Linked DNA regions of Homo sapiens: regions 2, 3 and 4 are each linked to region 1. Evidence: promoter capture Hi-C in 16 types of primary human blood cells and fetal thymus (Javierre and others, 2016). All regions are on one chromosome and are shown on one strand. The core of a region is centred on a gene start or on the middle of the fragment in contact, and the rest is flanking DNA. Distances in the headings are between cores, read along the strand shown. Region 1 holds the start of VANGL2 (VANGL planar cell polarity protein 2). Region 2 has its middle 33 kb from the start of ITLN2. Region 3 overlaps LOC101928372 (a long non-coding RNA gene). Region 4 has its middle 30 kb from the start of ITLN1.

Region 1 (2,595 bases), core at 54-2,553:
TCACACCCCTTCCCAGTACACAGGTGCACACACACCTATCCACATACACTCCATTCTGCTCTTACACACCCACCTTCCTCAGTACCTACACACCTCTTTCCCGTGAACCCCTCTCCCAGTACACACACATAGACATACACGCCCTCCCCTAAGTATACATATAAACACATATCCAAACACACAGCAGATGCATGGTCAGCCGCTCCCTGGGTGCACACACACTCAAGCACAGAAAAACACCTACACATCCAAACCAGGGGCCCACCTGCAGGAACATGCAGCACGTCAAGGCGTGCACACACACCAAAACAAAGAATCATGCACACGGATCCTCCACCAACCCTTCAAAACTCACTAACGCAGAGCCCACAGTCCCCCAGATGGGTAAATATGAGTGGGGAGAGGGATGCCAGCGCCTGTCCCCTCGGCCCCTATACACAGTCTACCGCCTCCAGCCCCATCCTCGGTCTGTACATACACCCTATCTACTCTGCCCAACCCGCCCCCCTGACTCCACTCTACACCCTTAACGCATACCTGCCTCCGTCCCTCCCCACGCTCCTGAGGGGTGTATGCACCCCAAAACACCCTTGGCTTCCAATACCTCCAGACTCCGATCCTTCCACGCCTCTCCCCCCACCTCCAACACAAGCTCCCCGTCTCCGGCTTCAACCGGCTCCCCTGGGATCATTAAGGCCCCCGCCCGGGCCCAGGAAAGTCCCCGGCTCTCCAGGCCTGGGCTCCGCCCCCTCCCCACGAGCCCCTTCCCCTCCCCAAAGTTGGGGGGGGTACTCCGCTGTGCAGTGGGGAAGCGGACCGGAAGGGGGTTGCCCGGAGTCCAGCCCCCCTTCCCCCATAAGCCACCCCGCTCGCTCTGGGGTCGGGCACCCCCTGGCCCCTTGCATGATTTTCCTCCTTTTCCATTTCTTTTTTTCTCTCTCTTTCTTTCTTCTTTTTTTTTCAAACTTTGCCCGCGCCCCCGCGGCCCGGCACTCACCCGCCGCTGCGAACTGCCGGGTGGGCTCCGCGGGCGCCCCGCTCGGCCCGTCGCCTTTGTATCCGCAGCGCTCCGGGTCGCTCCGAACTCGGCGCTCCTGGACAGGCAGCGCGCGCGATGGGGGATGTTGAGGGGGGGGTTCTTGAGTCTGGTCACCCCCTGCTCCGTCCCAGACCGCTGCCTCTTCCCCCTCAAGGCCCCGGGGGCTGGGGGCCAGGGGGGAATAGGGGGCGCTCAGGCTCCCATGGCGGGACCAAGGATCAAGGAATCAAGGATCAGGAATCAGATCGGGAGCCGGCGGCGCAGGGGGGAGGGGGCGGAGGGGGAGGGGATGAGGGTGGGGGGTGCAGGGGGCGGGGGAGCGCGAGCTCCCGGGTGCCGCCTCCCGGCTGTTCCCACAGCCGCCGCCCCTCCTACCGCCGCGTCCATTGTCTGCGGCCCCGCTCTTCCCGGAGTCGCCGCTCCCCCAGCCCTGCGCCTTCAGATGCCCAGCGGCCCTCCCCGATCCTGGGAATCCGCGGTGGGGCTGACACTCGGGTCCCGAACGGTGGGCAGGGGAATGCCTCGATTCTTGGACTTGGCCCAGCCCGCAGTCCCTCCTGGGGCTGTCTTCCTGGACCCCTCCTGTCGGAGAAGGAGCCCCCAGATCCCTGGGGCTGGCCATATTCTCTTTAGGGCCACGGACCCGACTACACAAAATCCAATGGAATCTGGGACGTGGGAAGATTGATTTTTTTTTTCCCCCTAGGGGTCCGAGAAGGGAGGGTCATCCCTGATTTTAATTAGTGGCGAGAGGCGCACGCCTCTTCCCATGCATACGGGGATTTCCCTGACACCATCACCACCATATCCCCTCCTTCCAAAAATAATTTAATTACTTGGAGTTCTAGCTGCGAGCAGCGACCGCCCCAGTCAGTCTGGGACGCTCCCTCATTAACACATTTTTCCTCCCCTCTGGTTTGAGTGTTGGGATTAATTACAAAGGGAACCCTGCCTTAGGGAAGAAGGGGAGGAGGAAAAGACGCGGGCGCCTGGGAGTTTGAATGGCAGAGGAGAGGGGGCCTTCTCCCAGGAAACCTCCAAGAGGAAAAATGCCTTGGCCAGTTGGGTCCCCAACCCCAAGCAGGCAGATTGTCCATCCCAGGAGTTTCAGATACTTTAGAGTTGAAGGTGCCACACAGGGATTGTAGGATCTCACAAAATATCCTACACGTTTGGGGCATTTGTGCCTCCCAGTATGCCAAGAAACCAGTTAGGGTTCTTTTACATGTGACCCTACAAGAGTGAACCCACACCGTAAAAGCCTGGGCTGTGGGAAGTCCATGTTCCCCTTGGAGTAAGTGAAAGCAGTATTCAATTATCATTAATGTTATTGCCGTGCAACCCGCCACTTAGAGTAGTATCATTTCAAAAGCATCTTCACATACTTCTCCCTAAGCAGGCCAAGGCCTTTTCAATATCTCAGCCTCCTTCAGTTTCCAATCCTGGCACCTGCTTGAACAACCCTGTGATTAAGGAATCCCAGAGAAAGAGACTCCCAGCCTCTGTTCCTCACTTGTTTGGGAATTTTTGCTCCTCCCTGATGAAAACTATTTCCT
Region 2 (2,595 bases), core at 59-2,558, 590 kb before region 1:
AAGTAGAAAACTAAAAAGAAGGTTTGGAACAGGCTGGAAGTGAGATTGAAGCATATCACAGAAATGTTAGACATTCTTCAATGTCAGTGCCTTGGATGAATTTATAAGGCTTTGCCTTAAAGTTACTTGTGGGCTTATAAAGCCTGTGTCAAAGCTAAACAAAGCCAGACAATAGTTTAGACAAGAAGTAAGGATAGGTATTTATTTATTTATTTGAGATGGAGTTTCACTCTTGTCGCCCAGGCTGGAGGGTAATGGCGCGATCTTGGCTCACCGCAACCTCCGTGTCCGGGGTTCAAGCGATTCTCCTGCCTCAGCCTCCTGAATAGCTGGGATTACAGGCATGCACCACCACGCCCGGCTAATTTTTTTGTATTTTTAGTGGAGACAGCGTTTCTCCATGTTGGTCAGGCTGGTTTTGAACTTTTGACCCCAGGTGATCTGCCCACCTCGGCCTCCCAAAGTGTTGGGATTACAGGCGTGAGCCACTGCACCCGGCCTAGGATAGGTTTTTTTAAGTAGTAACTATTGCAGTAGGGAAGAGGGCCCAAGGTGAACTGAACTTAACTTCCTTAAAAAAAAAAAAAATGCAGGAGGCCTTTTGAAGGCTGGGATGTGCTAAGGGATAGGCATGAAGATATTAAGGAGAATTGCTCCATGTGACTAGACAATCTGGATTTGTGAATTGGCTCTTGTCCAGAAGAGAAATAAGCACCTATTTTTACGACAGGAGCTAGTAGTGCAAGTTAGAGCAAGGCACCCACCTGGTTGGGAGCTGGAGCAAGATTTATTTCCTCAAATGTTTGCATTTCAAAGAAACTCTCAGGTCCCAGTGAAAATAGCTCTGGGTAGAAGATTTACATCTCAAAGAGGCAGAGAAAGATGTTTTAATTGCAAGCTTTCTTTCTAAGTAATTGCACTAAGATGAAGTTCAGGGGCCTGTGTCTATTGCTAGGTTTGGGCTGGGATGCACAGTAAATTTTTCTGACAGCGATGAGCTTTTTCAGGCAGGCATTTTAAGCGGGGGGCTGAGGTCCTCCTAGGGACAAGGCCTTAAGTTGCTAGAAGCCATGCTAGAGCTTGGTTAAGGAGAGTCTTTGTTACCTGGCGTCTCTCTGCAGTGCCGTTTCAATGCCTTAGAGCAAGAGAGTGGTGGATGGACAGTGATAGTGATTCACGTGCGCAATTCACAACTTGCATTAGCAACCAGGCAAAAGCAAGTGCTGCTTTTAGAGGCCTTGGGAAGAATTTCCACAAGTTTCCGGCCATTGGGATACAGGGGAAAAGGGATTGGAGGGAGGCTCATCGGGAACAATACATTAGGTAATGTTGGGGTTTATAAATCGATACCCCCAAATATAGTACTGAACCGAAGAAGCAACCTGAAGATCTCTCTGACCTTCCCCGCTCCACACGGTCTCTCCCAAAAAGCTGAAGTTCCTTTATTTGCCTAAGATCCAGACCCTCCAAGGAGAACAGTAGGTTTCTTTTCCTCCTGTAAGACCAAAAATGTAACCACACCTGAACAGACCTTTTCATGAGTTAATGCCTGCTTCTCATGGTCATCTAAATTCCAAAGAAAACTATTTACAAGTTAATTTGTTTCCTGATCAAATCATTCTCTTTAGTAATCATTTATTGCCCATCAACAGAATTCCTTTTCTCCCGCAGGATCCAAACTCATTCTTTCTGTAACCTCATGATGGCGTATAAGCTTTTGCACCTCACTGGGAGGTTGGGTCTTCATTCTGAAGGCTTCTATGTATACATATTAAATAAGTTTGTATGCCTTTTTTCCTATTAATCTGCCTTGCGTCAGTGATTTTCAGCAAACTTCAGGGAGCCAAAGGCCTTGGCTCCCACAGTGATAATAAACAATATGACTTTTGGCTATCAAAATTCCTGCTGTTAGTTAAGGAAAAATTGTGACAGTTTCTGAAATGGACAAATACAGGCATCCTTCCAGTGGATTACTAGGATTTGTCTAGACTAGAGGACAGGATGCTTCTGGGGGTTTTCTGATTCTCTACAGGTCAGTATCCTTCCTTGTCTTGTACTGTTTTGCAACTCTAGAAAGAAAAGTTAAATATGTAGAAGCCTGACAGTGATACAAATGATCCCTGTTCATATTAATACAAATGCAAATTGTTTGCCTGGTAGAGATACAATTGATTTTCTCTCTGTAGAAAAAAAGATGATCCCAGCCAGGCGTGGTGGCTCACCCTGCAATTCCAGCACTTTGGGAGGCCGAGACAGGCAAATCACAAGGTCAGGAGTTCGAGACCAGCCTGGCCAATATGGTGAAACCCTGTCTCTACTAAAAATACAAAAATTAGCCAGGCGTGGTGGTGGGCGCCTGTAATCCCAGCTACTCTGGAGGGTGAGGCAGGAGAATTGCTTGAATCTGGGAGGCGGAGTTTGCAGTGAGCTGAGTCCTCGCCATTGCATTCCAGCTTGGGCAACAGAGTGAGATTACATCTCAAAAAAAAAAAAAAAAAAAAAAGAATCCCAGAAATTAAATGTTTTATATTTTTGCCACAAGAAAACACGTGCAAGTATGAAACTTTTTGTAAGGTCCTCTGAGCTGGCTGCACT
Region 3 (2,595 bases), core at 42-2,541, 540 kb before region 1:
CTTTGAATTCTTTTTATAAATTGGCTGATGTGTTGAGGGATATTTTAAAAGAATACCTATGGTTCTGGTGAATTCCACCTCACATATTCTGGGCTTGCACAGTGGCTAGGAAGAACCCATTGAATAAAAATAAATGTTCACTTCAGCAACACATATACTAAAATTGGAACAATACAGAGAAGATTAGCAAAAAGATATAAAAAAATTGAAAAATAAAAAGACATTCTGGGCCAGGGATGGTGGCTCATGCCTGTAATCCCAGCACTTTGGGAGGCCGAGGCAGGTGGATTGCCTGAGGTCAGGAGTTTGAGACCAGCTTGGGCAACATGGCAAAACTTCATCTTTACAAGAAGTACAAAAATTAGCTAGGAAGTAATGCGTGCCTGTAGTCCCAGCTCCTCAGGAGGCTGAGGTGGAAGGTTGGCTTGAGCCAGGGAGGCAGAGGTTGCAGTGAGCCAAGATCTCGCCATTGTACTCCACCCTGGGTGACAGAGCAAAACTTTACCCAAAAAAAAAAAAAAAAAAAGAAAAGAAAAGAAAAATAAAGACAAAGACATTCTGGGTTTGGAATTTCAAGTCTCATCTGTCCCAGAACACAAGTATGTTCCTGTTTTTAGGAGATCCCTGAACTGGATTTAAGGACAAGAGAAAATATTTCATGTTAGTTCTTCCTAATGCACCTTTATTAGCTAATTAAATTAAGCCTTCAATATAAACATATTAAAGAAGAGAAACAGGAGATAGCACAATCACCCATTTCTTTTATTCTTCCAGCTTTAGCAGACAGGGTAGTCTCTCCAGAGGTGCATGTGCCTGGCCACATCTGGAATCCCAACTCTAGTTGCTTACTAAAAAGGAGAGATGGCCAGGTGTGGTGGCTCACACCTGTAATCCCAGCACTTTGGGAGGCCGAGGCAGGCGAATCACAAGGTCAGGAGTTTGAGACCAGACTAGCCAATATGGTGAAACTCCATCTCTACTACAAATACAAAAATTAGCCAGGTGTGGTGGTGTGCACCTGTAGTCCCAGGTACTCAGGAGGCTGAGGCAGGAGAATCGCTTGAACCCAGTAGGTGGGGGTTGCAGTGAGCCAAGATTGCACCACTGCACTCCAGCCTGGGTGACAGAGCGAGACTACATCTCAAAAAAAAAAAAAAAAAAAAAGAGAGCCAGGCATTCCAATCAGGTCTCAAACAGGATGTTGACTACAGCAGTCCTGGCTGGTGAAGAGGGCTTGGACGTCTTATAGTTTTTTTGCTCCAGGCTGGGTGCGGTGGCTCATGCCTGTAATCCCAGCACTTTGGGAGGTCGAGGCGGGTGGATCACGAGGTCAAGAGATCGAGAACATCCTGGCCAACATGGTGAAACCCCGTCTGTACTAAAAATACAAAAATTAGCTGGGTGTGGTGGTGGGTGCCTGTCATCCCAGCTACTCGGGAGGCTGAGGTAGGAGAATCACTTGAACCCCAGAGGCGGAGGTTGCAGTGAGCTGAGATCGTGCCACTGCACTCCAGCCTGGGCAACAGAGTGAGACTGCGTCTCAAACAAAACAACACAACACAAAACAAACAAACAAAAAGTGCTTTGCTCCAAATGCAAATCTAATCATAACATTTCCCAAACCCATTACCACACTTTTTCTCCATTGCTCCCTGTGGACTAGAGCATTGGTTTTCAAATGGGATGGGAGGTAGGAGATGTAGTGGTGATTTTACCTCTCAGATAGGGTTTTTCACCTCTCAGATAGGGTTGCCAGATTTAGCAAATAAAGATATGGAAGGCCAACTTAAATTTGCATTTCAGATAAACAATCGATAATATTTTTAGTATGTTTGTCCCATGCAATATTTTACCTGGCAACCCTACATCTAGGGAACATTTGGCAATGTCTGGAGACACCGCAATGAGTGGTGGTGGAAGGCCTGGCAGGAGCGCTACTGACATCTAGTGAATAGAGGCTGGAGATGCTGTGAAACACCTTACACTGCACAGGACATCCCTGCTCCATGACAAAGAATGGTCTGATCTCAAATGCCAGCTGTGCTGCCATTGAGAAACAGAGGATTTTGTTTAAATTCTATAGAATGGAAGTCATGAAGCCCTGACAGCTGAAGGCAATAAAGAACTTTTTTTTTTTTTTTTTGAGATGGAGTCTTGCTCTGTCGCTCAGGCTGGAGTACAGTGGCAAGATCTTGGCTCACTGCAACCTCTGCCTCCCAGGTTCATGCCATTCCCCTGCCTCAGCCTCCCAAGTAGCTGGGACTACAGGCACCCACGACCATGCCCGGCTAATTTTTTGTATTTTTGGTAGAGACAGGGTTTCACTGTGTTAGCCAGGATGGTCTTGATCTCCTGACCTCGTGATTTGCCTGCCTCAGCCTCCCAAAGTGCTGGGATTACAGGGCTGAGCCACCGTGCCAAGCCCAAGAGCATTTAAAAAAAGAGATTTAAGGCCAGGCATGGTGGCTCACGCCTGTAATCCCAGTACTTTGGGAGGCCAAGGGGAGCGGATCACCTGAGGTCAGGAGTTCGAGACCAGCCTGGCCAACTGGTGAAACCCCATCTCTACTAAAAATATTAAAAATTAGCTGGGTG
Region 4 (2,595 bases), core at 57-2,556, 510 kb before region 1:
AAAAAAAAGAGGATCTGTTAGTATACTTTTATCTGTGAAGGATTTTGTAGTGAGCCTTATACATGGATGATATTATACCTTGATAGATGGGAGATGAAGGCTCAATGTAGGTGAGAAATTTTAATGGTACATATGTTACTTCATAATCATTCAGAAACAGAACATTGGTTCACCCCTCTTAACTTACATGATGGGTTAAAGAGAACATTGCCAGGAGGTCTTCACTCTTCTAGAAGGGCATCATTCGTTAGGTCCATTTTTCCATGGTTTGGAGTAAAAGAGGCATTGATTAGAAATGTATCCCTCATGATAGGCTCTACAGCAGATTCTACTGTAATAGATATGATTATACAACAGACTTTAAATTATTTGTGAAAGTTATGCTAAATAATAGAATTGCTTTAGATTACTTACTGGCTAAACAGAGAAATACCTGTGCAACTGCTGACACTTTGTAGCCTAATGAGAAATATCTTGTCTTGGGTATGACAGCGATTCAGTTGTAAGGGATTAATGAAGAGACTGCTTAGTTAAGCAAGTAGACTGTATATCTAGCTCATTTTTTTTTAACCTATTTGATTTTAGGAGTTGGTTTATGGGGACCCTGAGTAAAGAATATATGCCAAACTCTTGGTATTATCCTCATGATTGTCATAATAGTAGTCTCCTTGGTGCACTGTATTCTCTCAAAAGTTTTAAATGTTTGCATGCAGCCATCACTAAAATGTCAAATGGTCTTGCTTCAACTGGAATGACAAGGGCTGAAAGAAATGTGTGACCATAGGCCAGGCATGGTGGCTCATACTTGTAATCCCAGCACTTTTGGAGGCCAAGGCAGGCAGATGCCTTGAGTCCAGGAGTTTGAGACCAGCCTGGGCAACATGGCGAAACCCCATCTCTACAAAAAGTACAAAAATTAGCTGGGTGTGGTGGTGCACATCTGTAGTCCCAGCTACTCAGGAGGCAAAAGTGGGAGGATCACTTGAGCCCAGGAGGTGGAGGTTGAAATGAGCCGAGATCGCTCCACTGCACTCCAGCCTAGGTGACAGAGTAAGACCCTGTCTAAAAAAAAAAAAAAAAAAAGAAAAGAAATGTGTGACCATGAGGGCACTGTAACCTGTGAATGACATGCTGATACTGGAATCCAAAATGATGGCAACTGAGAGTTACACTAAGTTTTGGTCACCATCTCACCTAAGTGAGGACCAAATGGGGAAATTTGTAAACCAAATTATGGAAGGCCATTGTTTTGGACTGAGCTCATGCACTAGGCCCAAACAGACCAGACCAAACCAAAATGGAGTCACTTGTTCTAAATGTGACATAATCAAATTAAGATTTTAAGGAAGCACATAGATCCTAGAACAGACCAGGTTTTGTTTTTTCTCCTGTAAACAGGACGTCCCAGCATAAGGAAGTACCCTCTACCCTTAAAAAAACAACCCAAAGTCCTTGTTCTCACCTTGCAAAAACCCACTGTTCTACCATTTCCCAGTGGGTTTCAAGACCAAATAAGTACTTTTATGACGGTGATTGTGACATCAATGACTAAAGTTTCAGTAAATCTCTCAAAATTGAGAGGATGACCAAAAGGGGGAATTTGTTAAATCAAGTTTAGCCTAAAGCGGCTTCGTTACATATTTTCAGTTCGGCTTAAAGGTTTCATCATGAACTATAGCCTAAGTGGAAATGTGAACAAACTGTGGTCTACTCTTGTGCCAGTCACCAAATTTTGACCATCAAATGTGGCTAAATGTTCAAACTGTGTTCAAATAAGGCAAACGCCAAGCTATAACCAATGCAGCTGTTTCTGTACCTCAATTCCATTTTCTGTATGTCACTTTCCTTTTCCATCAGTAAATCTTCCACCACGTAGCTGCGCTGGAGTCTCTGAACCTACTCTGGCTTGGGAGGCTGCCAGTTTCGGGAACTGTTCATTGCTCAATTAAACTTTAAAAAATTTAATTCAGGCTGGGCACAGTGGCTCATGATGGGGCGGGTTGCCTCTCCACACCTGTGGGTGTTTCTCATTAGGTGGAACGAGGGACTTTGAAAAGAAAGAGACACAGAGACAAAGTATAGAGAAAGGAAAAAGGGGGCCTAGGGGACTGGTATTCAGCATTACGGAGGATTCTGCCAGCTTCTGAGTTCCTTTAGTATTTATTCATCATTCTTGGGTGTTTCTCGGAGAGGGGGATGTGGCAGGGTCATAGGATAATAGTGGAGAGCAGGTCAGCAGATAAACACGTGAACAAGGTCTCTGCATCATAGAGAAGGTAAAGAATTAAGTGCTGTGCTTTAGATATGTATACACATAAACATCTCAATGCCTTAAAGAGCAGTATTGCTGCCTGCTGTCCTACCTCCAGCCTTAAGGTGGTTTTCCTTTATCTTAGTAGATGGAATATACAATCGGGTTTTACACCAAGACATTCCATTGCCTAGGGACAGGCAGGAGACAGATGCCTTCCTCTTGTCTCAACTGCAAAGAGGCGTTCTTTCCTCTTTTACTAATCCTCCTCAGCACAGACCCTTTACGGGTGTCAGGCAGGGGGACGGTCAGGTCTTTCCTTTCTTACGAGGCCATATTTCAGA

The links. Contacts are between HindIII fragments. The CHiCAGO score rates a contact against its expected background, and 5 or more counts as called.
Region 2: a contact is called between a fragment that was not itself captured here and the fragment with the promoter of VANGL2 in region 1, in 2 of 17 cell types (non-activated CD4 T cells and total CD4 T cells). The highest score is 8.1, in non-activated CD4 T cells.
Region 3: a contact is called between a fragment that was not itself captured here and the fragment with the promoter of VANGL2 in region 1, in 1 of 17 cell types (non-activated CD4 T cells). The highest score is 5.2, in non-activated CD4 T cells.
Region 4: a contact is called between a fragment that was not itself captured here and the fragment with the promoter of VANGL2 in region 1, in 1 of 17 cell types (non-activated CD4 T cells). The highest score is 5.6, in non-activated CD4 T cells.

What each region holds. Positions count from the first base shown.
Region 1 is chr1:160,399,272-160,401,866 of GRCh38, reverse strand. It overlaps VANGL2 (VANGL planar cell polarity protein 2), which reads right to left and starts at 1,303. Exons shown (of 8, transcript NM_020335.3): 1 at 998-1,303. The region is part of intron 3 of LOC105371466 (a long non-coding RNA gene); the gene reads left to right. The HindIII fragment of the contact is 3,661 bases long and covers 1-2,595 here.
Region 2 is chr1:160,986,066-160,988,660 of GRCh38, reverse strand. No RefSeq gene overlaps it. Among named protein-coding and RNA genes, the nearest start is that of ITLN2, 33 kb to the right of the region's middle. RefSeq lists a silencer at 968-1,262. The HindIII fragment of the contact is 816 bases long and covers 901-1,716 here.
Region 3 is chr1:160,942,420-160,945,014 of GRCh38, reverse strand. LOC101928372 (a long non-coding RNA gene) reads right to left here. Exons shown (of 6, transcript NR_110695.1): 4 at 57-157. Among named protein-coding and RNA genes, the nearest start is that of ITLN2, 11 kb to the left of the region's middle. The HindIII fragment of the contact is 4,320 bases long and covers 1-2,595 here.
Region 4 is chr1:160,913,516-160,916,110 of GRCh38, reverse strand. No RefSeq gene overlaps it. Among named protein-coding and RNA genes, the nearest start is that of ITLN1, 30 kb to the right of the region's middle. RefSeq lists an enhancer at 2,060-2,595. The HindIII fragment of the contact is 4,529 bases long and covers 1-2,595 here.